Regions from separate parts of the Homo sapiens genome. Here all the other regions are linked to region 1. The links are contacts of gene promoters, found by promoter capture Hi-C in blood cells and fetal thymus (Javierre and others, 2016). All regions are on one chromosome and are shown on one strand. The core of a region is centred on a gene start or on the middle of the fragment in contact, and the rest is flanking DNA. Distances in the headings are between cores, read along the strand shown.

Region 1 (3,847 bases), core at 796-3,295:
AAAGGCAACAGCAAAGTGGAAATACCCATCTCATTAGAGAATCCAGGGAGTAAGATGTGCTGCTAGGTTACCTCTTAATTTCACTTCGTACATTTCTAGTATCTGCCATAATAAAGTCCTACCTGATGTGCATAAGTGAGTTAATAATATCAGTCCTAAGACTACTTATTCTTAAAAATGCCTGCTCACAAAGTTCAATCTTTGTTTGTATTAGTAACTTACATTTTGAAAGGGATTCCACCAACCTAAGTAATAAGAATGACTCACTGCATCTAAATGGTTTATGCAATATAGTTGCCAAAACTTTTTCTGCTAAAGGTCTATTATTTTGTGTCACTGCAGTGGTGCTTAGGGAACCAGACACCAAAACACAGTCTGAACACTAAGTGTTTAATGAGTTTCCCTGGTAGACAATATTTTATATGTGCTGTCACTTGTTAATTGGGGAGTTGAGCCCATTCCATGTGATTACACCAAGAGAGAATAGGCTTATTAAATTTAATTGAGTAGTAAATAAAACCAATAATTGATATTTAACAATTTACTAATACAATTTTTAAATTTCTATTGCACAATGTCAAGGCAGAATGGAATAAGAGGAAATATGGCACATGTTTTTTAAAATGACATTAATGTCACCACTTCCAGATGCTATTCCTGTGAAATCACATAAATTCCCAAATCAGGCTTTTTTAGGCAAGAAAAACTAGTTTTTCATACCTAGTAAAAATGACAAATGTCTAATGATTTTCAGTCATCTAAAAAAAGAGTTATGTCTTGCCTAACATACTTTTAAGATTTTCAACCAAAAATATTCAGGACAGCACAGTATTAGCAGAGAGATGAGCAAGCAGACCAAGGGCTGAGGACACAACACCCTGTAAAGTTTTCACAGGGGGACATCAACCTAAAGACATTTTGGTAATATGCACACTTAGGAAAGATGAAGAGAGGCACAAAGATTTTTTTACAGTAGAGTGTCAGATGGTTTATTCTCCGCTTTCCTCTCATGTAAAATGTTTGTAAACAGAAAAATATTTTGGCCGAGCGCGGTGGCTCACGCCTGTAATCTCAGCGCTTTAGGAGGCCGAGACGGGCGGATCACTTAAGGTCAGGAGTTCGAGACCAACCTAGCCAACATGGCGAAACCCTGTCTCTACCAAAAATACAAAAATTAGCTGGGCGTGGTGGCGGGCGCCTGTAATCCCAACTACTCGGGAGGCTGAGGCAGGAGAATCGCTTGAACCCGGGAGTCAGAGGTTGCAATGAGTGAGACTGCATCATTGCACTCCAGCCTGGCGACAGGGCGAGATTCCGTCTCCAAAAAAAAAAAAAAAAAAAAAAAAAAAGAATATGGTTTGCTTCCTCATTAACCTTATCAAAGCCTCTCATTTACGCCCCTTCTGTGGACCCCAAACCACAAACCATGACTGCGGTACCTGGTTTATGAATCGCCGTTTGCTCAAACACACGGTTTAACGTTTTAACAAAGCCTCGGCTTAATTTTAGGGGAAGAAAGGTGGGACTGGAAGCCCCATGAACCACAGCTCCTCCCATGCTGGAACCCCGCACACCGAGACACCGAGTCGGGGCTCTCCCGCATCACCCTCCCGTGGTCACCACACTACCTGGATAGGGGAGGCGAGGGGTTCCCGACAGGGCTCCGGCCGGCGGAAGTGGCGCCCGCAGGTACAGACAGGATGCAGGGGTTCCGCTGCCCGCCCCGCCCGGCCCGGCCCTGAACAGAAGAGGACTGAGCCCCGGCTACGCCACGGCGACTCGGTCCGCAGGTTCCGGAGCCGATGGCGTGGAGGCCCGAGTCGCGCCACAGCAGGTTTCAACCAGCCCTCTTCTCCACTTCGGGAAGCCAGGCGCAGTCCACTCACCATTCCTCGGCTTCCCGGGTGTCCTGGCGTCAGCTAGGGATGTCCCAATACTCGCAGGTCACAGGGTGGCAGAGGCTGCTGCAGAGCCACCTGGGCCTCCCAGAGCCAAGAACTAGCAGCGGAGACTAACAGGAAGAGCCGGCTCCGGCGAAGGAGAGACAAAGCAACCGCCAGGCAGATCCCGGAAGCCGCCCTCTCCTTTCCGGCGGCGCGCCTGATTGAACGGTCCCCACCCCAGCGCCCCTGATTGGATGGGGCTTCAGGCCCCGCCCCTCAGGCCCTGAGTGACAGGAGATTGCGATCTCACGTGAGGCTGGATGAGGTCAGAATGACCGCTTTTGGCCTAGCGGTTTGTAGGCGGTGCGTCCTTCCTGCGCTGGGATCCGACCATGCAAGAAGGACATTCACATTTAACCTGTATACAAGTTATAGCTATTTGTGCCTTTTATATATATATATATATATAAAATTGGAAGCAATATAATGACAGTTCTGTAACTGCCCAGGGAGTTCACCTTGCCCGCTACCTAGACAGAGCCGATTTCTCAAGACAGGGGAATAGCAATAGAGAAAGAGTAATTCACGCAGTGTCCTCTGTGCGGGAGACCGGAGTTTTTTTATTTTATTTTATTTTTTTGAAACAGAATCTTGCTCTGTCTCCCAGGCTGGAGTGCAGGCTTGGAGTTTTATGATTATTCAAATCAGTCTCCCTGAGCATTTGGGGTAAGAGTATTTAGAACGTTTATTTTGCCAAGGTTGGGGATGCATATGCATGACACAGCCTCAGGATGTCCTTGATGACATGTGCCCAAGGTGGTCAGAGCACAGCTTGGTTTTGTTGGAGAGAAATGCTCGGTGCCGCAAAGTGAAACCAGCACTCAAGCGAAAGTTTTCTCAGCAACGCAATTTACTTCTGCAGAAGCGTGCTGCTCGCATCAATCACGATCGCAAGAGCACACTGAACAGAGGAAAGCAGGGGTTTTTATTCCTAACGCAGTCCCTACCTCTGGCATGGGCTGGGGTCAGACCGCACGATCTAAACTGACCCGGTTGGCTATTTGTGAATATTTTCCCAAATAAGGAAGGGGGAAGGGGGATGTGAGTTACAATGGTGGGACTTGCGGTTTCCAAGGGAGAAATGGGTGCAGAGCAGGTAACCAAGGGAACAGATGTGAGTTATTGATTAGAACTGACGGAAGGTTGTTTACAGTAACTAAGGGCAAGGAGGCATGGAGAACAAGAAAGTTGAGTTCGAAAACAAAAAAACAAGAAAGTTAACATGCCAAACCTTGGAAGAGAAACTGACTGTATCTGACAGCTTTATACATTTTAGGGAAACAGGAGACATCAATCAACATATGTAAGATGAACACTGGTTTGATCCGGGACAACCTGAAGCAAAAGCGGGTCAACTCGAAGCCAGGAGGGGGCTTCCAGGTCACAGGTAGGTGAGAGACAAACGGTTGCATTCTTTTGAGTTTCTGATTAGCCTTTCCAAAGGAGGCAATAAGATATGCATTCATCTCAGTGAGCAGGGGATGACTCTGAATAGAATGGGAGGCAGGTTTGCCCTAAGCAGTTCCCAGATTGACTTTCCCCTTTAGCTTAGTGATCTGGGGGGCTCAAAACATTTTCCTTTCCAATTTCCCCCTTTTCTTTTAAAAATATTTTGGAGAAAGCATTTTAGAAGAAAATCAGTCTCTGGTCCCAGGTTTTGTCCAATCTCTCATGGAGTAGCTGGGATTACAGGCACTGGACACCACGCCTGCCTAATTTTTTTTTTTTTTTTTTCGTAGAAATGGGGTCTCCCTCAGTTGCCCAGGCTGGTCTCTGGTGCCCAACGCCGGGCTCCCGGTAATCTCTACAAATAATCCAGTGAAGGAATGCCAGAGAGTGGAAAGTGGAGGATGACTGACAAAGGACGCCCGAGTACGTTTTCACTTCAAGCTCTACAGGTAAGT
Region 2 (3,847 bases), core at 868-3,367, 420 kb after region 1:
GTTTGTTGCAATCTTCTGTGTTTCTTATTAAGCCTCTGAATTTTTTCACTGCTCTGTCTTATAGTTTTAGTATGCTTAGCCTGGTGTGTACTAGACATTGCCTCTGGCACTACACCACATGCATTTAGTGTGGGCCTATATAAACTTAGTCAAGCAACTGTGTTAGAAAAAAATTTTATTCTGTGGTGAAATAAATCTTAGAATTTGAATTTACATTCTTGCATTTTTTTTTTTTTTTTTTGCAAGGAGAAAATCCTATAGGCATCTTTCTAACCATCCACCCAACTAGGAATTGGGAATCCAAAAAAATTGAGAATCCACTCAATTTTTATATACCTGCAGTATTAATTATAACAGGATTGATGAGACTGTTACAAGGTTGTAAGCATTTTCAACAGTTTATGAAAAACATAATGTCTCCCTCTCCCTCTCCAGTCTCCCTCTCCCTCTCCACGGTCTCCCTCTCCCTCTCCACGGTCTCCCTCTCCCTCTCCACGGTCTCCCTCTCCCTCTCTTTCCATGGTCTCCCTCTGATGCCGAGCGGAAGCTGGACTGTACTGCCGCCATCTTGGCTCACTGCAACCTCCCTGCCTGATTCTACTGCCTTAGCCTGCCCAGTGCCTGGGATTGCAGGGGGCGCCACGACGCCTGACTGGTTTTCGTATTTTTTTGGTGGAGACGGGGTTTCGCTGTGTTGGCTGGGCTGGACTCCAGCTCCTAACCGCGAGTGATCTGCCAGCCTCGGCCTCCTGAGGTGCTGGGATTGCAGACGGAGTCTCGTTCACTCAGTGCTCAATGTTGCCCAGGCTGGAGCGCAGTGGCATGATCTCAGCTCGCTACAACCTCCACCTCCCAGCCGCCTGCCTTGGCCTCCCAAAGTGCCGAGATTGCAGCCTCTGCCTGGCCACCACCCCGTCTGGGAAGTGAGGAGCATCTCTGCCTGGCTGCCCATCGTCTGGGATGTGAGGAGCCCCTCTGCCCGGCTGCCCAGTCTGGGAAGTGAGGAGCGCCTCTTCCTGGCCGCCATCCCGTCTAGGAAGTGAGGAGCGTCTCTGCCCGGCTGCCCATCGTCTGAGATGTGGGGAGCGCCTCTGCCCCGCTGCCCCGTCTGGGATGTGAGGAGCGCCTCTGCCCGGCCGCAACCCCGTCTGGAAGGTGAGCAGCGTCTCTGCCCGACCGCCCCATCTGAGAAGTGAGGAGCCCCTCCGCCTGGCAGCCGCCCCGTCTGAGAAGTGAGGAGCCCCTCCGCCTGGCAGCCGCCCCATCTGGAAAGTGAGGAGCGTCTCCGCCCGGCAGCCGCCCTGTCTGGGAGGTGGGGGGCAGCCCCCGCCCAGCCAGCCGCCCTGTCCGGGAGGGAGGTGGGGGGCAGCCCCCACCCGGCTAGCCGCCCTGTCCGGGAGGGAGGTGGGGGGCGCCTCCACCTGGCCGCCGCCCCGTCTGGGAGGTGGGGGACGCCTCTGCCCGGCCGCCCCTTCTGGGAGGTGAGGAGCCCCTCTGCCCGGCCGCCACCCCGTCTGGGAGGTGTACCCCACAGCTCATTGAGAATGGGCCATGATGACGATGGCGGTTTTGTTGAATAGAAAAGGGGGAAATGTGGGGAAAAGATAGAGAAATCAGACTGTGGCTGTGTCTGTGTAGAAGGAGGTAGACATAGGAGACTCCATTTTGTTCTGTACTAAGAAAAATTATTCTGCCTTGGGATGCTGTTATCTATGACCTTAACCCCAACCCCATGCTCTCTGAAACATGTGCTGTGTCCACTCAGGGTTAAATGGATTAAGGGCGGTGCAAGATGTGCTTTGTTAAACAGATGCTTGAAGGCAGCATGCTCATTAAGAGTCATCACCACTCCCTAATCTCAAGTACCCAGGGACACAAACACTGCGGAAGGCCGCAGGGCCCTCTGCCTAGGAAAACCAGAGACCCTTGTTCACTTGTTTATCTGCTGACCTTCCCTCCACTATTGTCCTATGACCCTGCCAAATCCCCCTCTGTGAGAAACACCCAAGAATGATCAATAAATACTAAAAAAAAAAAAAAAAAAACCATAACGTATAACTTTTAATGAGAAATTTTTCTGAGTGCTCTAACAAATACTGCTTCACATTGCTAACACTCAGTCTAGTTTTAGAAAATATATATGAAATCCTCTATTGTATCAAAAATGTTTATCATTTTTAGTAAATAAATGAACCTCCATCTACTGTTTGTCAGTAGCTCTTGCTCTGCAGTTTGGGGTTGGCAACCTCCTACAGAACAGATGCCCCTTCAACCTATATACACTTTATCTCCTTTGAACCACTGTAGTTTTGGTCTCTGTTACAGCAGCGTAATAATCAAGTAATAATCAAGACCTATATGAAGAAAACTGGAAATCTTTCCTGAAGGAATAAAAGATCTACATGCATATATAGACAGGAATAATTCCTAACATTCATTGAGGTTTTACTGTGCTAGTCATTATATTGAGTACCAATTTCTCATTACTTAAGTCTCTGCAGAAACCTTTCAAGACTGGTGTTTTTGCCACCCTTTACAGATAAAGACAACAGGGTTCAGAGAGGTGGGTTTATTGACCAAGGATTCATAGTCAAGTGAGGCATCAGGACCCATAGCAAGTACTTAATGACATGATCCCACCCCCGTGCTTCAGTTCCTTTGTTCATTATCCACATGGAAGTCTTGGTCCTGCAAACATGGTAAATTTTCCAGACATTAATTTAAAAATGTAGTTCAATACTAACCACAGTCAATAAGATACTGTTTTGGGTTAGGAGGAAACTAGCTGTGACTTTAACTTGGTAGAGCAGAACATAGTGACAACCATGAAAAGTCTAAATTAGAAAAATAGATAATGATTGATGCCTTGTTCTACTAGATGACAAAATATACTATACATCAACAGCTATTAAAAGTGTTACAAATGTGAATGAAATAAAATAAATGAATAAATATTAATAGAATTGATATTCCTGAAATAAATTTGCACATATATGAAATTTTGAATATGGTAAAGGTATAATTTGAAGCAAATAATGAAAATACAGCTAGCGAAATAAATTGTTTTGGGACAATTGACTGAACATTTGGAAAACAACATCTGTCTTACACACACACACACACACACACACACACACACTCTGCAGATGCAGTGAATTGAAAACCTAAACATAAAATAGAAAACCATAAAACGAGAAGATAAATACAATCTGGAAGATCGCAGGCCATTTCTAAGCATAACTCCAAGCATGAAGGCTTATCATGCCCTTTACTTCTTCCAAATAGTCTGAAAATATGAAATTCCATACATCTAGGGTCTCTAAGACATTTATTACCTGGGCCTGAGGGATCTCTCAGACCTCACTTCCCACCACTCTTTCCCTTACTCTCTTTCAGCCACACCAGCCTTTCTACACATGTAGCCCTTCCTCTTCCAAAGCCTTGATACTGGCTACTCCCTCCCCTTGGGATGCCCTCCATACCCATGCTGTGTGACTTCCTCCTTTGTTTCAGGGGAGAGCGCAAGTGGCAGTCCCTAGACCTCATGTCACCTTCTCCAGGCTCACCCTGCATGGCAGTTGATCGTATCTCTTAACCGACATTCTCATTTGCTTGCTTTGTTGGTGAATATTCTCTCTTCCCGAACTTTTGCATCCTATGAAAGCAGGGATATCAGTTATTTATTCCTGCATCTTCAGCCTCCAATACAGGCTGCATACATAAACCATGTTTAAATAATAATTCATTTCTTTGAATGAAATAATGAACAGTCCCACAACTAGAAGGCATAAAGGCATGATTGATAGTTTATTTAATACATATAACATTTAAAACTTTTGTACCACAA
Region 3 (3,847 bases), core at 942-3,441, 390 kb after region 1:
AGAGCCTCTGCATATTTGTCATAAGGGTGAGCAGTGGGACATTTTGGATTGAAAGAATAAAGCATTGTGAAAAAAAGTAGTTTTGAACAGATGACTACAAGGTAAATTTGCAGTTTTGGTTAAGGAGTCAGACCCTAAGTGATAAACTTTGCTGAGATCACCCAAAGTGATCACAACTTTATCACCCAAAGTGATAAAGTTGCTGAGCAATTTGTGTAGCTTGTCATTGCCACTCTTGAGGTCTCCTGAACCTGGGAGAAAACTTATGATAGGTCTGAGGATACAGAAGTACAAGTTGTTCATAATAACCAACACCTGTAAAATGTGTGTCTGTGAAAGTCTCCTTTGTGAGTACTCAGGAAGCCTCTGAAAGTCTTCCATTCTTTGACACTTGGCTGGCTACTTCTGATAGACCCTGCCTCTTTTACCCTTTCATAGGGCTTTGCAGAGGGTCCGGTGCCTGGACCAATGGATGGGAACTACAGAATTCCCAATTGCAGCTCCAACAGGATACAGCTCATAGCATGTCAGTTGTCAGGATGGACAGGTGGTGACAGCGGCTGCATAGACACATGTCCTTCAATGTGTTTCTGTGCCCTCATTCCCACAGCTTCCTTCTTGTGTGTTGCCCAGATGCCGTTTGCTATTATCATAGCAGATACAAGCCTGGGTGGATATTGGCTGTATAAGGCAGAGTCCCCATCAAAGCCCTTGGCTTAGACTGTGGAAATCCTCAATAGCTGAAAGTGCTCAGGGTATATACTCAGTGTCACCAGTTACATAGACATGTGAGGTCTGAGTGGGGACTTAGAGAAGATCTAGCCTCTTTCCCATGTTGCACAAGGAAAAGCCAAGTTAGAGAGAGATGAACTGAATAGCAGGCCATACATTTGCAGACCTGTGTTTTACAGAGGCAGAATTAAACCTATCATCACAGTCCTTTCTTGTAGGGTCAAAAATCACTGTGTTTCATCTTAATAAAATTACATGCCATTAAGGAGTTGCCTGGTACGTACATTCATGGCTTCCTTAAGCATCACCCATAAATGTGGTCCTTCATGACTTTGTATATACTACCTCCTCTTTGTGAAACATATTTAGCTCAATCTGCCACATGTCAAATTCTTACTTATTATTTGCAACAACCAAAAACAACTCTCAGACTCAGCAGTCTCCCTTAATACAAACTGTTCTACACAGGCCCTCCTGATCACTTGGGAGTGATCTGCATAATACTCAGCCTTTTAACGCATCTTCTTTTAGAGAACTTTCTCTTTCTCCCTTCTTTGTCATTATTCATACACATTATTCACCAAGGAGGGAAGCTCCAGAGTCAATTCATCCCGTCTTCCTGGGGCATCAGGCACACGACTTTGCATGTAACAGGTTTCAATAAGTCTATTCTAAAAAAGCAAAGAAAGGGCAAATGGCTCTCTTAACTTCACAGACCTGTAAATGGAAATTGGAGAGTGCCAGATCATCTGCATGTGCCCCCTTATCTAATTCTTTGGTTGTTTCTCTGTAATAGCTGGTGGATTATGGGAAAGGACAATGCCAGTTACCTACAGGCATTCATCCTGGTGGGCTCTTCTGATCGGCCTGGACTGGAGAAAATTCTCTTTGCTGTTATCTTGATCTTCTGCATCCTGACCCTGGTGGGCAACACTGCCATCATCCTCTTGCTGGTCATGGATGTCAGGCTCCACACACCCATGTACTTCTTTCTTGGGAATCTGTCTTTCTTAGATCTCTGCTTTACAGCAAGCATTGCCCCTCAGCTGCTGTGGAACCTGGGGGGTCCAGAGAAGACCATCACCTACCACGGCTGTGTGGCCCAACTCTACATCTACATGATGCTGGGCTCCACCGAGTGCGTCCTCCTGGTTGTCATGTCCCATGACCGCTATGTGGCCGTCTGCCGGTCCCTGCACTACATGGCAGTCATGCGCCCACATCTCTGCCTGCAGCTGGTGACTGTGGCCTGGTGCTGTGGCTTCCTAAACTCCTTCATCATGTGTCCTCAGACGATGCAGCTCTCCCGGTGTGGACGTCGCAGGGTGGACCACTTCCTGTGTGAGATGCCTGCTCTTATTGCCATGTCTTGTGAGGAAACCATGCTGGTAGAAGCGATTCACCTTTGCCCTGGGGGTGGCTCTCCTCCTGGTGCCGCTCTCCCTCATCCTCATCTCCTATGGCGTGATTGCAGCCGCGGTGCTGAGGATGAAGTCAGCAGCAGGGCGAAAGAAAGCCTTCCACACCTGCTCTTCTCACCTCACAGTGGTCTCTCTCTTCTACGGAACCATCATCTACGTGTACCTGAAGCCGGCCAACAGCTACTCCCAAGATCAGGGGAAGTTCCTGACTCTCTTCTACACCATCGTCATTCCCAGCATCAACCCCCTCATCTACACTTTGAGGAACAAGGATGTGAAGGGGACCATGAAGAAACTTCTGGGGTGGGAGAAAGGGGCTGGGGAGCCTCAACGAGGGGAACACTCTAGTAATGTAGACAGTTTGCTGGAGTTACTCTCTTAGATGTGTCTGTGGCCATGTGGAGAACTAATATTCAAGGAGTAGAGTGAACGCGGGTGGGAAAATGCTTTCGAGTTTGACCCCGTCCTCTGCCCTCTGGATGTGAAGTGGTTTCCTTCTGTTTGAAGTTGCCTGCTTCAGGATATCTCTGCTGTATCTTGCACTTTCCTTGTCTTTTTGATTTATCCACAACTGCTGGGGACTTACAAAACTAATTCAATCACCCAAAGGCACTGGGCAGTCTGCAGATTATGTCATGGATGTCAAATAAAAATTGAGACAACATGAGTGGCCTTTTCTTCAAGCCCTTTTATTTGCTTCTGTGGCAGTTTTTCAAAGAGAGAGGGGTCAACATCAGTAAAGTTATAGTGCCCTGTCCTGGATACAGGTTGGTTCTGTATGAGTGGGGAATGTCCTTTGAGTTGCTTTTTGAAAAAGCAGAATTTGCTCAGAGTTATTTGCATCTTCTCCTTGACCTTTTCGCATAGCCAAAGTACCTACAAAAGAGCTGACTCTAGTCAGGAATGCAAGCCTTTGGGAAGAACAGAGCAAATGATACACATCCAGATAGAATGAATTTGTTCTCCTTAGCAGATTAAACAGCTGTAAATATTCTACTTCAAAGAGAGCTGTCCTATACTCAAATTAATTACCACCCCCAACCTCCACAAATAACTCTGATGACCAATCTTATAAAATCAGTGCATATTGGAATTGGACATTACTAAAAGCAGTGTTTCCAAAACTTGATCGTGCATCAGAACGCTTAAGGCACAAATTTCCAAGAACTCTCCAAATTTCCTGAATCTACAATGCCAGGTGTGGGTCTAGGCATCTCTGTCTTTAAAAAGCTCCCTAGGTGTTACTGATGATAGATTTTGAAATCATTGTTTTAGAGATAATAAAAATCCAGCTCCTCACATTACCCAGGACTCTTCCTGTAGCATTCTGAATCCCTGGCTGCCTTCACTGGGTATGAATGATCCTGTGCACCAGGCATGGGGAAGACAGTATCATCCATATCTGGACTTGGAACTGATTTATCTTCTCACCAGTTAGCTTTCGAAGCCTAGCCTTTTTCATCTGTATTATGGAGGTCATACTCTTCACCTTAGAGGGTTGTAGTAGAGATTAAGCAAGACAAAGTATGTTAAATATGAGGTGGGTGGTCTCTCAGTAATACTTTTTTTTTCATGTACCACAGGCATTGGGCAATCTATTCTTTTGTAGGTCTTATGCAATTGTTATTTAGATCTTGTTTTTAGTAAAATTCTGCTTCAGTATTTTTCCATTTATTATCTGCAAGATGCAAAAT
Region 4 (3,847 bases), core at 603-3,102, 350 kb after region 1:
TCCTTCTAGTGCTGGGGACGAAGGGAAGAGGAGGAGAAGGAGCTGGGACCCAGCAGTGATGGGCCTATGGGAGGGAGGATACGGCTGCACAGCCCTCAGCGCGTGGCTCAGGCAGGGTCAGCCCCTCTGCACATGCCTCCCCCTACCACCACCACACGTCATCGCCTTTTTATGTGGTCTGACTTTTTCAGATTTTTCAACCTGAAGCTTGCTTTCTCGGGGACTGATACGATTCAGCTCTGCATTCTCTTTTTCTCTCTTTCCATGGCCCTGCTCAGCTCACTACTGCCCTTGTGACTGTGATTCAGCAGCCTCAAAAATAGGAGGAAGCGGAGGAAAGGGACTCAGCGTCCCCACACACTGTGTGCAGCGTCCACTGTTCAGATGAGTGTCAGACAGCGTGCCTACCTCCAGGCAGAGCATCCTGTTCTGCTCCCGGCTCTCTTTTCTAGATAAAACCACACAACACAATTTTACACTTGCTGCTTAATACGTGGCCATTGCTCATCGACCCATCCATCCTCCACCTCATGTGCCCTTGGTCTCCAGCATAGCCCAGTGTTAATACTGCCCATCCTGCACCTCCACTGCACTGTACAGATTTCAGTTTGACTGGAGTTGAGGATGAATCACTCACCTCCAGGGTTCCTGGCTCCTACAGAAGACTTGCTTTAGGACTGAAGGCTATATTGCAGTCTGTGTTGGCCTTAGTCGCGGAGGGACATTTAAGGATGGACTTACTAGAAATGCTCTTCATATTCCAGGAACACACAGCACATTTCCTCTGATGGGCTGCTGGGACCTTACCATTTACTGGAACCCAACCCTCTGAGCAAGTCTGAGAGATTATTCTCAGTCTAGAAGGAGTCTGCTGTCCGTTGCAACAGGCTTGCTGGGGAGACTCAGGGTTTCCCGGACTCTCCCTTGGCAGTACGTGAGGTCGGTGGAACTGCCTTAACCTTAGTCCCCCAGAGTGCCTATAGGTACCTTGACATGGTGGAGGTTACTTCCGAGGATAAGGCTTTCAGGCAACACACCTTGCCCGTGTCACGCTCTCTGTTCATTTCAAAATTATCCCTCAGATTTAACTTGACCTCATTCTCTCCACTGTTTTCTATAAGGGCCCTGCTCATTCTCCCCAGACGTGAGAGTAAAAACTTGCTCTCCTCTGGCTGTGAAATTATCCCTGATGCTTTATTTAATTAGTGTCTAAGGGGTTAGCTGATAATTGAGGTGGTGTGAGAGCTTGGAGTTCTTGCAATTAATGGCAAATCCCAGAAGACCAGAGAAAATGGATCAATAATGGGGAATAAGAACTCTGTGTGTGTGTGTGTGTGTGTGTGTGTGTGTGTGTGTGTGTTGAACTCTTTAGGGCTGGTGCGTGGTGTGTGTGTGTGTGTTGAACTCTTTAAGGCTGGTGCGTGGTGTGTGTGTGTGTGTTGAACTCTTTAGGGCTGGTGCATGGTGTGTGTGTGTGTTGAACTCTTTAGGGCTGGTGCGTGGCGTGTGTGTGTGTGTGTTGAACTCTTTAGGGCTGGTGCGTGGTGTGTGTGTGTGTGTTGAACTCTTTAGGGCTGGTGTGTGTATGTGTGTGTGTGTTGAACTCTTTAGGGCTGGTGCATGGTGTGTGTATGTGTGTGTGTGTTGAACTCTTTAGGGCTGGTGCGTGGTGTGTGTGTGTGTGTGTTGAACTCTTTAGGGCTGGTGTGTGGTGTGTGTGTGTGTGTGTGTTGAACTCTTTAGGGCTGGTGCGTGGTGAGGTGATTACTGTAACATCAGAGTGGAGTAGTAACTAGAGTGTGTGATTCAGGTAAAGCATGAGACCTGAACTGGCTTCAACACCAGGCTCGGTCACTCATGCCATGTGTCTTTGAGCAGGTTACTTAACCTATCTGTGCCTCACTTGTGTTTTCTTAAAAATACAAGAAACATTAGTATTGTTTTGCACAGTCTGTTACAAGGGTGGAATGAATTGTTTCTTGTAAAGCACTCAGAACAATGAGTGGCACAGAGTGATACATGTTGAGGGCTTTTTGTTGTTGTTGTTGTTGATATATTGTCTCAGCACCCTATTATATTTTTCACATGGAGGGGATAAAAAAAATCTTTCTTAAGACAGGCCGCAAGAAGTAGTGCACATTTTATTTTATTTATTCTTTTATTTTCTTATCTGTATAAATTTAAGGGCTACTGGTGCAATTTTGTTACACGGATATATTGTGCAGTGGTGAAATCTGGGCATTTAGCGTAACTATCACCCGAATAACGTACATTTTACCCCACGTAATTTCTCCTCCCTCACCCCCTGACACCGTCCTACCCACCCTAGTCTCCAGGGTCTCTTACTCCATCCTCTGCATCCCTGTGGACACATAATTTAGCTCCCACTTGTAACTGAGAACATCTGGTATTTGACTTTCTGTTCCTCAGTTGTTTGGCTTAAGATAGTGTCCTCCAATTCCATCCACATTGCAGCAAAGATATGACTTCATTTTTTTTATGGCCAAATAGAATTCTTGTAGCGCAAATTTTAATTCATGAGCTACAATTCATGTGATTAAATGCTGCTATGGGAACCACTGTGAATAGCAGCACCTTGGTGCAGTTACTCTCCCTCTCTAGGTTTTGACTCGATCGTCTTTTTTCTCTAGCTTTAGATGTCTAAGTGGACACAGGGTGAGTCATGGCCATGAGTTAGGGCTCTATTTTTACCTTCTGGGGATGGAGGGAGGAGAGAATATGTCCCAGAAGAAGATGGGGCGACTGTGCTTTGGCGAAGAAGTGGGAGCTGTCCCTGATTCTAAGCATGCTCTCTTGTACTCTCTCCCACGGAGAGCCAGATGAGGCACCAGGGACATCTTAGACACTTTTTTTTTTTTTGAGACGGAGTTTCACTCTTGTCTCCCAGGCTGGAGTGCAGTGGTGCGATCTCGGCTCACTGCAACCTCTGCCTCCTGGGTTCAAGTGATTCTCCTGCCTCAGCCTCCCGAGTCTATGGGACTACAGGCACCCACCACCACACCTGGCTAATTTTTTGTGTTTTTAGTAGAGACGGGGTTTCATTATGTTGGCCAGGCTGGTCTCGAACTCCTGGCCTCAGGTGATCCGCCTGCCTCGGCCTCCCAAAGTGCTGGGATTACAGGTGTGAGCCACCGTGCCCGGCCTTAGACACTGTCTTGTTATCCAGCTGGGATAATTTCCAGAAGTGGAGAGGCTTCCATATCTCTGCAGTTGGGGGAAGAAAGGTGGAATAAACAGTTTTGTGCTGAGAAAACCCAGATGCAATTGTAGTTGGAAACTCCCACGACTGAGACTGACACAGGGTCCCACTGGAATTGTGCTAATTCTCGTCTTGATCATCTTTCTTCAAATATCTGTTCTCCCACTCTTATTGTTGGCACCCCCTTTTACTCCATGCAGCAAGGTACTCTGTGATGTGATGATATTTTCCAGGCTTTCTAACAGATAGGGGAAGCTAATGAGATAAAATTACTGGGAAAGCTTGGAAAAATATTAGCCAATCCTCCATTCTCTATTTTTGTGCATGGAACGTAGTCTTGATGGCTAGCGCCCTAGCAGCCATATTTGATCTTAAAGCAATCTTAAAGAAGCAAGTCACATATTAAGAATGGTGGAACAGGCTAGGCATGGTGGCTCACACCTGTAATCCCGGCAGTTTGGGAGGCTGAGGCAGGTGGATCACCTGTTTGGGAGTTTGAGACCAGGCTGACCAACATGGAGAAACCCCGTGTCTGCTAAAAATACAAACAATTAGCCAGGCATGGTGGCACATGCCTGTAACCCCAGCTACTTGGGAGGCTGAGGCAGAAGAATCGCTTGAACCCAG
Region 5 (3,847 bases), core at 841-3,340, 310 kb after region 1:
TTTAATTTTGTAGACACAAAGTCTCACTATGTTGCCCAGGCTGACTGTGAACTTCTGGCCTCAGGTGATCCTCCTGCCTCAGCCTCCCAGAGTGCTGGGATTACAGGCATGAGCCACCATGCCTGGCTTCTTCTCTATTTTCTTCTAGGAGTTTTACAGTTTTAGATCTTATGTTTAGATCTTTAATCCATTTTGAGTTGGTTTTTGTGTGTGCCAAGTTTTATTCTTTTGCGTGTGGAAATCCAGTTTCACCAAAAGCTTAATTTTTCAAAATCTTATATTTTTCTTGATTTTTTTTTCACACTTCTATAGCCAACATCTTTATTGAAGAGATTGTCCTTTCTCCATTGTGTCTTCTTGGTGACCTTGTCAAAGAATTAGTTGACTGCATATACTTGAGTTTATTTCTGTTCCACTGGTCTATGGGTCTGTTTTTATAAAGGCATGGATTTTTACTGCATATGAATTATACCTAAATTTGTCTTTTTTTTTTCCTTTTTCTGGAGAATGGGGTCTCACTATATTGCCCAGGCAGGTCTCGAACTCCTGGGCTCAAGCTATCCTCCCGCCTCTTGCCTCCCTGAGAGCTGGGATTACAGGCGTGAGCCACTGCGCCCGGCTGAATTATACCTAAATTAACTTGACTAAACAAACAAAAACAAAAAGATCCCAGGTTCAGCCAATGAGCTCCTTTTTTTTTTTTTGAAATGGAGTCTTGCTCTTGTCACCCAGGCTGGAGTGCAGTGGCACAATCTCAGCTCACTGCAGCCTCCACCTCCCAGGTTCAAGTGATTCTCTTGCCTCAGCTTCCTGAGTAGCTGGGATTACAGGTGCCCGCCACCACACCCAGCTATTTTTTTTTATATTTTTAGTAGAGATGGGGTTTCGTCATGTTGGCCAGGCTGGTCTCAAACTCCTGACCTTGTGATCTGCCTGCCTTGGCCTCTCAAAGTGCTGGGATTACAGGCATGAGCCACTGCACCCAGGCTGAGCTCCTTTCTTTTGGAGCATATTTGGTCTGCTTTCTCTCTAGCTTCAGCACCTGAAGTTTTTGCTGCTCCTGCCTCAGCTCCAGCCCCGAATGACACCTTTCACCTGGTTCATGGAGACTCAGGTCTGCTGTCATGCCCCTAAGCAGGACTAGATGCCTCTCTCATGTTGTAGAGCATTCTCTCTGCAGTTCTGTAGAAAGGTGGTAGTCATCGGAACCAACTGCTTATTCTAGCTTCTCTGTGCCAGGCTCTGTTTTAAAGGCCTCACGTTTAGCCATTCACTCAGTGTTTTCTGACAGCCTTCTAGGATAGGTACCGTTATTTGGGTTGATGTAGTGCTTGGTCAAATGCAGTATAATGAAGGGATCAAGGAGGGGGCAATTCCAAGCAAAACCACTTGTTCATCCATCCTGAGTCTAGGAGATTTGGAAGATCTAAAGAAGTAGCAGGCAATTATTGTCACCCTTTTACAGGTATGAGGCACAGACAGACCCAGTCATTTGCTGACATCCCTCCACTGAACTGGGTGCTCGTCCTTTTCACTCACCCAGAGGCTGAGCGAGTGCCTCTCACCCACCAAGCTCTGTTGAACTTGTGCCTTTGCCGGTCTGTGGTCCTGCGGCCGTCTCATGAGCTGCAGAGTAGGTCTGTGTGTGTCTCTCCTCAAGCTACTCAAGCTGAGGCTTTGTGTGCATGCCTGCCACATACCAGCCATTCCGTGAGTGTTAGTGGAACAGGTGAGTCAATGAGTCAGGGAGTAAAATTTGTGCTTTAAAAGTAGAACATGTCGGAGAGAACCTGTACTGCCTTCCAGCCATCTTGCTGTGAGAGGACAGGGCATGGACTCTGGAGTTTGAAGGCTGGGTCAGGTCATGCTCTGGATTCTTTACTCACTCGCATGGCATGTCCTTAGTTTCACTTCCCTCACTCTCAGTGGAGCCGTTGCAGCGGGCAGTGTCAGAGGCAACATCCATTTAGCACTGCCGATTTGACCCCCAGCCCCATCTCATACTGGCCTCCCACCCTGCTTCTGTGGGGTGCCTCAGAGGAGAGCAAGGTGAACCCCAGTATGGAACCGAGACACGGTTTTGACAACACTGTTGATCCCATTTGGAAAATCCAGCTATGTGATTAACCATTAGTCTCTCTGCCTCTGCTCTGATGTAAGTGGAGACCACATCCTTCCTGCCCCTTCTGGGGCTGCGACTGCTATAAATTCATTGCATTTCCTCTCTAGCTGTTCCTGAGGCTGGCATCTGGGTAAGTCCAGCTCCGCGGGGCAGTGTGGGCGACAGGACCGGGAGAGCAGTGGGGGAGATTGTGTTCAGAGGGCAGAACTTGTCCTGGTTAATGCACTAGGAATTTCTTCTGGCGTCTCCAAGGTTGTGCTTCAACAACATTTCTGGAATGTTCTTTTATCATTATTTGGGCTCTACGTGTGCAAGTTCGTGTGTGTGTATGTGGCGGGGGGAAGCGGGGAGGACAGCGGCAGCAACCATAGTTTACACCCACGACTTCAGCAGATTTGCCCAGTATCCCTCCCAGGGGAGAAGATGGATGGGATATACAGAAGGAAACAAACCTCCTTAAAGACCAAAGGGCAGCAGATTTTTGTGCTGGTGTTAGGGTGGAAGGAGCACAGAAGAAAGGCAGAATCCTGATGCAGATGGAAGGACTGATGGGGCAGGAGCTGGGAGGGTATGCGGAGCTAATAGGGCTGTCTGGAGAGCAGTCACCTCAGGATGGGCAGGAGCTGGGAGGGTATGCGGAGCTAATAGGGCTGTCTGGAGAGCAGTCACCTCAGGATGCACAGGGCTGGGTTTGCAGGGCTCAGGAGGCGAGGAGTAGATAGGCAGGAATGGAGATGGGACGGGAGAGATGAGTGAGTCTGAGGCATCTTGACATTGAACTGCAGTCACAGAAATTCCAATTTGGAGAGCTCCACCGTTTTCCAGGCTCTCTGCCTCCCTTGAGTGTTATTTATGGCTTTAGGTTGAGGTGCTTTGCCAAATAGAGTATAATCAAGGGATCAAGGAGGGAACAATTCCAAACAAAGCCAACTTGTTCATCCATCCGGACTCTAGGAGATATGGAAGATCTAAAGATACAGCAGGTGATTGCTAGTTTTTGTGGAACTCACAGTCTAGTTGGGAAGACTATGTTGGTGAATGCTGCAGTGATACACCTGTGATAAATGCTGGGGAAGTGTGTCTTTTAGTCATCTATTTTGTTGTCTTTGTCTTTGTCTGACTGAAACAAGTGATGGAAGACATGGTCTCATATCTCTGGTCAAAATCCTGGCTCTGTTCCTTCCTGGTTCTAAACCCCTCGGCAGGCTTCCTAGTCCCCCTAAGACTCAGTTTATGCATCTATAAAATGGGGCTAGGAATAGGTGCACCTCATAGAGCTCTGTGCAGGTTAGATGGGGAAAAACATCAGTGAGTGCCTAGCCTGTGGAAAGCTCTAAATTAATGTGAATTATAATGATAACAATTGCGAATTTTGCAAGGAGACATTAAAGGATGTATGTTTTTATTTATTTTATTTTATTCTATTTTATTTTTTGAGATGGAGTTTTGCTCTTATTGCCCAGGCTGGAGTGCAGTGGTGTGATCTTGGCTCATCGCAACCTCCGCCTCCTGGGTTCAAGCGATTCTCCTGCCTCAGCCTCCCGAGTAGCTGGGATTACAGGTGCCTGGTACCATGCCCGGTTAATTTTTGTATTTTTAGTAGAGACGGGATTTCTCCCTGTTGTTTGGTGAGCCTGGTCTCCAACTCCTGACCTCAGGTGATCCGCCCACCTCGGCCTCCCAAAGTGCTGGGATTACAGGGATGTATGTTTTTATTATTCTCCA
Region 6 (3,847 bases), core at 710-3,209, 290 kb after region 1:
TCAATTACCCCGGCCTGCCTTCAGCAAGAGTATGTTAGGCCAGTTCAACCAGAACCCCCTTACCCCTGATATTTCCTCTTCGTAATTTTTTATCTACTGACCCCCACCCTTCTCTTTGGTTATAAATACCCCCTCTTCCTTGTTGTATTTGGAGTCCGACCCAACCTCTCTCCCACCGCTAGATCCCACTGCCATGTTACCTACACTTATCACAAGGGTCCAGAACAAAGTCAGCCCTCCCATCCTTTAATAAGTACCATTGAATAATTTTTCCTTAACAAGGGTAGGGATATTCTTGCTAAAGTGATCTAACAGGATTCTTGCTGAAGACAGGCCAGGGTGATCAGATATCACCTGGGGGATTGTGAGGGATGAGCAACCCAATCAGATATGAGAATAGTCAGATATCAATGTGGGGAATGACTTAGCAGGATTCTTGCTAAAACTGGGCTAGGCAGGTTGATGAGAGGATGGGGGCCAAGGACAAGGCCTGGTTGAGGAGAAGATTCCGAGGAGTCTGACTGAAGTTTGGTAGAGGAGGGAATCTTTGTCACAGTTCACTGTAACATTAAAGTCTGGACTTTTTTTTCCTTTTTAACATTCTATCACACTTGGAAATGTCTTGCAACAATATTGTACTTTGAACAAAATAGTTACAGGACTATGAAAAAGAATCTTAGACATGCTACACTGTAGGCAGCATGGCCTGGACATGGACCTGTGCTTACAGCTGTATGGTAGAAAGAACCTGTGTGAAGGTGAGTTTAAGTATCGGAGTGTGAGAGGCCTTCTGAGGACACAAAGCTTCTCTGTGCCTCACCCACAATGGTGTCTTGGTGAATGCCTTTAGACTGAGTGAGCATTCATCTAGTCTGAGACTTCTTATCTACTGCATTTTTTTTTTTTTTTTGGAGAAACAGAGGTCCCACTATATTGCCCAGGCTGGTCTTGAACTCTTGGCTTCAAGTTATCCTCCTGCCTCAGCCTCTCAAAGTGCTGGGATTACAGTCATGAGTCACCACGGCCTGGTCTGTCTACTGCATCTTAAAGGAGCAGATGCTTGCTTTTTTTTTTTGAGACAGGGTCTCACACTGTTACCCAGGCTGGAGTGCAGTGGCACAATCATGGCTCACTGTAACCTTGAACTCCTGGGCTCAAGAGATCCTTCTGCCTCAGCCTCCTGTGTAGCTTGGGACTACAAGTCCATGCCACCATGCCCAGCTAATTTGTTTTTTAAATATATATATATTTTTTGTAGAGACAGACTGTTGTTATGTTGCCCAGACTGGTCTCAAACTCCTGGCCTCAAGTGATCTTCCTGCCTCAGCCTCTCGGGGTGTTGGGATTACAGGTATGAGCCACCATGCCTGGCCTACATGTCTACTTTTGATCCTGGGAATAGGCAAGCATCCTCCCTTCCCTCCTCTTTTATGATTGTTCCCTGTACATCCACCTCCAGCTCCAGGACTCTACCTCTCATCAAGGCTGACCAGAAGCAAGATGATGGAAGCCAAGAGAGCTCCTCTGCATGCTCCACTGTCTAAGCTCTGCTCTGCATCTGCCGTGATTCTTCTTCCAAACAGAAAACACCGTCTTTCTTTTTGACTACATCTGTCCTCAGAGATGGTGCTGATGGATCCATTTATAATTTATGTGAATTTAAACCTTTGCAATTTTTACATGGAATAAAAGGACCTATTTTCTGGAAAGAAAATGCTGAACAAGAGCTGAGAACCTGGGGCAATCTAAGGCAGGGGTTCCTCCCTAACACCCCTGCTGTCAGAAGCCAGCTGGTTGGCCATAGATCACTTCACCTAACACCCAGTGCCCAGTCACATTTGCCCCCAAATTGTACAACTCAAGCTTAACTTTCACATATTTTAAGATAGTGTCAGCCCCTTTTGCAATATGTAGATGATACTTTTTGTTTGTCATTTACCATTTCAAAAAAATTAAAGCATATTGAATATCTAACTTAAAGCATATTGAATATCTAGCTTGCTTTCCTCTCAGGTTACTAATAAGAATTGCATTTTTTAATGCTTAATCACATATTAAGCTTTCCATTTGGGAGTTTTGCTCTTTTGTTCTTTAAATGGTGTCTCAGTCCATTTGGGCTGCTATAACAAGGTCCACAGACTGGGTAGCTTATCAACAACAGAAATTTATTTGTCACAGTTCTGGAGGCTGGAAAACCAAGATCAGAGCTCCAGCATGGTCAGGCTCTGGTGAGGGCTGTCTTCCAAGTTGCAGACTGCCAACTTTTTGTTGTATCCTCACATGGCAGAAAGAGGCAAGAGAGCTCTCTGGCCTCTTCCTATAAGGACACTAATACCATTCAAGAGGGCTCCATTCTTGTGAGCTAATTACTTCCCAAAGTTCTCACCTCCTAATACCATCACACTGGGGATTTCAACACATGAATTTTAGTGGGGCACAGTCAGTCCACTATAAATGAATATTACCAATATTTCCATTTGCCTTCTTGCATGGCCTGCAGGAGGTCAGTGTTTTTTCTCCTCTAATGATATTGAGCTGCGGTTGGGCCCATAATGGTGAAAAGACCCGATGAAGGCCATCTCGTCCATTCAGGCTACTCTAATAAAATACCATGAACTGGGGGTGCTGATAAACAATAGAAATGGATTTCCCACAGTTGTGGAGGCTGGAAGTTCAAGATCAAGGCACAAATAGACTCAGTGCCTGGTGGGAACCCATTTCTTAATTCACAGATGGTGTTTTCTTGCTGTGTTTCTATACCCTAATGGAAGGGGCAAGGCAGCTCTTGGAGGTCTCTTTTATAGGCACTAACGCCATTTATGAAGGCTGCACACTTATGACCCAATCACCTTCCAAAGTTCCCACCTCCAAATATCATCACCTTGGTGACTAGATTTTAACATGAATTTAGAGGGGACACAAATATTTAGACCACAGCAGGTCTGTTAGCTTCACAATAGTCATGGTTCTGGCTTTCAATTCACACATATTATGGGGTCATAAAATATGTATCACCACATAAATAAATTCCCTAATCTTAAATCACTATCATATGTAATATTGTATGATGTGTTATTTGAAATAATGAAGCAAAAAGAAGACACAATAACTTAAATGCGAAAATACAGAAATTTAGAAAAAAGAAAAGTCTAATCTATTGTTTTACTACACAACTAGAATTGTCCCCACTTCGGGGAATTTGCTTCTAGCTTTTCAAAAGCTTATATGTCAGCCAGGTGCTGTGGCTCATGCCTGTAATTCCAGCACTTTGGCAGGCCGAGGCCTGAAGGTTGTTGAGCCCAGGAGTTCAAGACCAGCCTGGGCAACGTGTGGAGACCTCATCTCCATTTTATTTTATTTTATTTTATTTTATTTTATTTTATTTTATTTTATTTTATTTTATTTCATTTTATTTCATTTTATTTATTTATTTATTTTTTTGAGATGGAAACTTGCTCTGTCGCCAGGCTGGAGTGCAGTGGCGTGATCTCAGCTCACTGCAACCTCTGCCTCCTGGGTTCAAGCCATTCTCCTGCCTCGGCCTCCTGAGTAGCTGGGACTACGGGCGTGTGCTACCACGCCCAGCTAATTTTTGTATTTTTCAGTAGAGGCGGGGTTTCACCATGTTGGCCAGGCTGGTCTCAAACTCCTGACTTGTGATCCACCCGCCTCGGCTTCCTACAGTGCTGGGATCACAGGCGTGAGCCACCACGCCCAGCCAATAATTCTTTCTTTTAAGTGTTCCTACTATTTATTGTTTTTAATTATTCAAAATCTTATTTTTATTTGTACATGCACAGGGCCTAAAAATTAAAATGCTATAAATGGAACACAATGAAAAACAATT
Region 7 (3,847 bases), core at 799-3,298, 280 kb before region 1:
AAGCACTTAAACCACCCCCAACCCACACACACATTTTGTAGACAGATATAGTTGGATCCTGCTTTTTCTATCTTATCTGATGATCTTTGCTTTTTAATTGGTCATGTTTAGACTATTTATGTTTTACATAATAATTGATATAAATTATTGGCATTAAATCTACTGTCTTGCTATTTGTATTCTACTTATCCCATCTCCTCTGTGTCTAAATCCCAAACATGGCAGGATAAGAGGGGTAAAGAATGTTTTATAGTTCCGTTTCCCCACACTTGACTCATTAGTTAGTTATACTTGTTTTATTTATTTATTTTGTATTGATTGCTCTAGGGCATCAGTTCACACAGTGCATTCCAGGGTCTGTGAGATCTTTTCAGGGTGTTTGTAAAGTGACACTTCCTTTTGTGATCGTACTAATGTTTGCTTTTTTCATTCTCATCCTCTCATGAGCGTAGAGTGGAGTAACGTGTGCAGTGGGATTTGCCAGAGGCTATGTAACGTGATTTTATAGATGACATGCAGGGCAGAGAATCAAGCTCTTTCATGAAGTCAGACATTACAGAGATTTCAAAAAATGGAAAGCAGTGCCATTCTCTTCAGTGTCGGCTCGAGTACTATTTTTTGGCCTGACATGGTGTTTCACACTTAAGATCCCATCACTTTGGGAGGCAGAGGCAGAAGGATCATTTGAGCCTAGGAGTTCGAGACCAGGCTGGGCAACAGAGCAAGAGCTCATCTCTAAAGAAAAATAAAAATAGATCGGGCGTGATGGCTCACACCTGTAATCCCAGCTCTTTTGGGAGCTGAGGCGGGCGGATGACTTGAGGTCAGGAGTTCGAGACCAGCCTGGCCAACATGGTGAAATCCCATCTCTACTAAAATACAAAAATTAGCCAGGTGTGGTGGCACACACCTGTAATTCCAGCTACTTGGGAGGCTGAGGCAGGAGAATCGCTTGAACCTGGGAGGCAGAAGTTGCAGTGAGCCAAGACTGCGCCACTGCACTCCAGCCTGGGTGACAGAGTGAGACTCCATCTCAAAATAAATAAATCAATAAATAATAAAAAAAATTACTTTTCATAAAAATATTTTTATATTATGTATGTTTACTAGTAATGGATTTTTAATGTTTTTATTAACTGATGTTAATAAAACATCACCCTGTGTTTGTAATAAAACAAACCCTGTGCTCTAGGGTCACAATAGATTTCTTTAAAATATTTTATTTTCAAATATTATATTACTTCCTCTATAATGCAAAACCTTCAAACAATATACTTCTGGTAGCTGTCTCGTTTTTTTTGGTGTAGTCATATTTTATTTCTGTATTTGTTTTGAATCCCAACAGAATTTATTCTTGCTTTGACAATCAGTGATCTTTCTGAAAGATTCAAAATTAGAAAAAAATTTTCTTGGGCACAGTGTTCTAGGTTGAGAATTTCTTTTCTTTTCTTTTTTTTTTTTTTTGAGATGGAGTCTCATTCTGTCACCCAGGCTAGAGCGCAGTGGTGTGATCTCAGCTCACTGCAACCTCCATCTCCTGGGTTCAAGTGACTCTCCTGCCTCAGCCTCCCTAGTAGCTGGGATAACAGGCATGTGCCACCATGCCCAGCTAGTTTTGTTTTGTATTTTTAGGAGAGATGGGGTTTCACCATGTTGGCCAGGCTAGTCTTGAACTCCTGACTTCAAGCAATCTACCTGCCTCGGCCTTTCAAAGTGCTGGGATTACAGGCATGAACCACTGCTCCTGCCCAAGGTTGAGAATTGCTTTCAGCTCGTAAGTCTCTCCATTGTGTTCTAGCTCGCATAATTCTGACAATATATCTGCGGTCATTCTTGTTGTTCCTCCATCTTTTCTCACTTGTTTTAAGATTTTATCACTGGATTAGAGCAATTTAATTAAAATGAGACTTACTGTGATTTTCCTTATTCTACTTAGGACTTATTGCTCTTCTTAGACCTGTGGGTTTATAGTTTCCATCAAATTTGGGAAAATTTCAGCCATCATTCCTTCAAGTATTTTTTGCACACACGCCCCTCCCATTCTTTCTGTGACTCCAATTACATGTAGAGTAAGATTGTCCCACATGTCACTGAGGCTCTGTTCATTTCCTCCCCATAACTTTTTCTGACTGTTTCTCCTTGTCTGTCAAAATTCAGCCTAAACATCATACCCTTTATTAAACCATTCACCAGATATCCTGTCTAGATTGAATGACCACCTCACCTTTGTACCCCACTGTATCCCATACATCTTATCACAGAGCCTGTAACATCTGAGTGTACTTTTTTCCTGTCTCCCCAAACCAAATTGTGAGCAACTTTCAGGCAGAACAGTGCATGGCATATGATAAATGCTCATTAAAACAGAAGTTCTCAGATGCTAAGTGCCTCATACAGTTTGCTTATTTTGCTTATCTCAAGGAAGCAAAATATAATTGACTTGACTGTCATACCTTTTTCAGTGTGTCAATACATTGGCAAATGAACTGATTTGAGTATCTAAAAATTACTTAGGCCATAGCTGTGTTTTTGGACCTCACGTTCAGCATAGAAAAGGAGTAAATTTAAAGTGAAATTCTCATATGGAAACATAGATTTATGCTTGCATAAAATTATTATACTTTCACACTGTGAACACATCATCAAAAACAAAACAACAAAAAACTGGCATTGAAGCTGTGTTTTAAAGCAACTTACCTGGCCTGCAAATTTACGACTAGGATCAGCTGAAATAAGGACACCATCCTTATCCCTTTGAAATCCATTGTGAGACCAATATGCCAGGTCAAAAGTAAATGTCTTCACATGCTCTGGATTCTTAGGGTCCTGTGTAGTGGTGGTAGTTCTGGAATGCATGGAAATCACACATTTGCTCCCAGAATTCTTCTCTCTCTACAGTCAAATTACAAATTCGGAGTCAATCATTCCAGTTTCTCTTTGTTATCCAAGTTCATTGTTTTGCAAGTCTTTATACCTAGTAAGAAATTAAGCCAAGAACTTACCCTTCCCTCAGTTTGTTCTCTAATTGTGTTACTTTTAGCAGCTATTATGACAAGCAGTTGTTCCTGTACTCCCTCGGAATTTTTGAAAGGCTTGTCTCTAGTCACATTAACTTTCTGAGAAGAGCTGGCTCTCTAACACCCAGGTATACTAATAACAATAACTACAGTAGTGGAGATACTGACTTCCTGCATAACTGGTGAACTCCCCAGTAAAACTAGTGAAAAATTATCCATTAAAAAATGAAAATGAAGAAAAAAAAACACTTTTTAATGGTCCTAAGGACAAACAGCACATGAAGAAACATCTATTCATGGCCGGGCGCGGTGGCTCACACCTGTAGTCCCAGCACTTTGGGAGGCTAAGGCGGGCGGATGACTTGAGGTCAGGAGTTTGAGACCAGCCTGGCCAACATGGTGAAACCCCGTCTCTACTAAAAATACAAAAATTATGTGTGTGTGATGGCAGGTGCCTGTAATCCCAGCTACTCAGGAGGCTACGGCATAAGAATAGCTTGAACTTGGGAGGTGGAGGCTGTAGTGAGCTGAGATTGCACCACGGCACTCCAGCCTGGGCGACAGAGTGAGACTGTCTCAAAAAGAAAAAAAAAAGCATCTATTCAAGAAAATGTACTAAAATTTGGTAAGAAAAGAGTTTGTGGTATTTGAAGCAAGATCATTCCTTTCCTTTCCCTGCCAGCTCAGGAAGGTGGAGATTCCACTCTGGACAGCTAGAGCCAGTAACACAGGGTTCTGTCTCTGCTCCAGATCGCAGCTGGAGGACTTTCTTCCAGGAAGATCAAGATATTAGCATTTCTCATTCTGCCTCTCTCTACCTGTTAGTGAGG

Evidence for each region. Contacts are between HindIII fragments. The CHiCAGO score rates a contact against its expected background, and 5 or more counts as called.
Region 2: a fragment that was not itself captured here is called in contact with the fragment with the promoter of ZNF669 in region 1 in 1 of 17 cell types (monocytes); the score reaches 5.0 in monocytes.
Region 3: a fragment that was not itself captured here is called in contact with the fragment with the promoter of ZNF669 in region 1 in 4 of 17 cell types (M0 macrophages, M1 macrophages, monocytes and 1 more); the score reaches 9.1 in M0 macrophages.
Region 4: a fragment that was not itself captured here is called in contact with the fragment with the promoter of ZNF669 in region 1 in 2 of 17 cell types (neutrophils and monocytes); the score reaches 5.8 in neutrophils.
Region 5: a contact is called between a fragment that was not itself captured here and the fragment with the promoter of ZNF669 in region 1, in 1 of 17 cell types (neutrophils). The highest score is 6.1, in neutrophils.
Region 6: a contact is called between a fragment that was not itself captured here and the fragment with the promoter of ZNF669 in region 1, in 3 of 17 cell types (naive B cells, total B cells and M2 macrophages). The highest score is 6.5, in naive B cells.
Region 7: a contact is called between a fragment that was not itself captured here and the fragment with the promoter of ZNF669 in region 1, in 1 of 17 cell types (fetal thymus). The highest score is 6.2, in fetal thymus.

The regions. Positions count from the first base shown.
Region 1 is chr1:247,102,311-247,106,157 of GRCh38, forward strand. It overlaps ZNF669 (zinc finger protein 669), which reads right to left and starts at 2,046. Exons shown (of 4, transcript NM_001142572.2): 1 at 1,887-2,046. The coding sequence starts at 1,889. It overlaps FLJ39095 (a long non-coding RNA gene), which reads left to right and starts at 2,201. Exons shown (of 3, transcript NR_147502.1): 1 at 2,201-3,330; 2 at 3,683-3,841. RefSeq lists an enhancer at 1,997-2,291. The HindIII fragment of the contact is 5,762 bases long and covers 1-3,847 here.
Region 2 is chr1:247,520,891-247,524,737 of GRCh38, forward strand. It overlaps OR2C3 (olfactory receptor family 2 subfamily C member 3), which reads right to left. Exons shown (of 3, transcript NM_198074.6): 3 at 3,787-3,847. GCSAML-AS1 (GCSAML antisense RNA 1) reads right to left here. Exons shown (of 4, transcript NR_027309.2): 4 at 3,789-3,847. It also overlaps a transcript of GCSAML not described here. Among named protein-coding and RNA genes, the nearest start is that of GCSAML-AS1, 8.0 kb to the right of the region's middle. The HindIII fragment of the contact is 6,477 bases long and covers 1-3,847 here.
Region 3 is chr1:247,489,590-247,493,436 of GRCh38, forward strand. It overlaps the pseudogene OR2W5P. Among named protein-coding and RNA genes, the nearest start is that of OR2B11, 33 kb to the left of the region's middle. The HindIII fragment of the contact is 5,867 bases long and covers 1-3,847 here.
Region 4 is chr1:247,457,002-247,460,848 of GRCh38, forward strand. OR2B11 (olfactory receptor family 2 subfamily B member 11) reads right to left here and starts at 1,103. Exons shown (of 2, transcript NM_001004492.2): 1 at 638-1,103. The HindIII fragment of the contact is 3,294 bases long and covers 206-3,499 here.
Region 5 is chr1:247,413,942-247,417,788 of GRCh38, forward strand. NLRP3 (NLR family pyrin domain containing 3) reads left to right here and starts at 2,232. Exons shown (of 10, transcript NM_001243133.2): 1 at 2,232-2,252. The HindIII fragment of the contact is 3,668 bases long and covers 257-3,847 here.
Region 6 is chr1:247,391,883-247,395,729 of GRCh38, forward strand. LOC107985375 (a long non-coding RNA gene) reads left to right here. Exons shown (of 2, transcript XR_001738574.1): 2 at 1,460-1,980. Among named protein-coding and RNA genes, the nearest start is that of NLRP3, 22 kb to the right of the region's middle. RefSeq lists a silencer at 959-1,241. The HindIII fragment of the contact is 196 bases long and covers 1,862-2,057 here.
Region 7 is chr1:246,827,204-246,831,050 of GRCh38, forward strand. No RefSeq gene overlaps it. Among named protein-coding and RNA genes, the nearest start is that of LINC01341, 40 kb to the left of the region's middle. The HindIII fragment of the contact is 7,632 bases long and covers 1-3,847 here.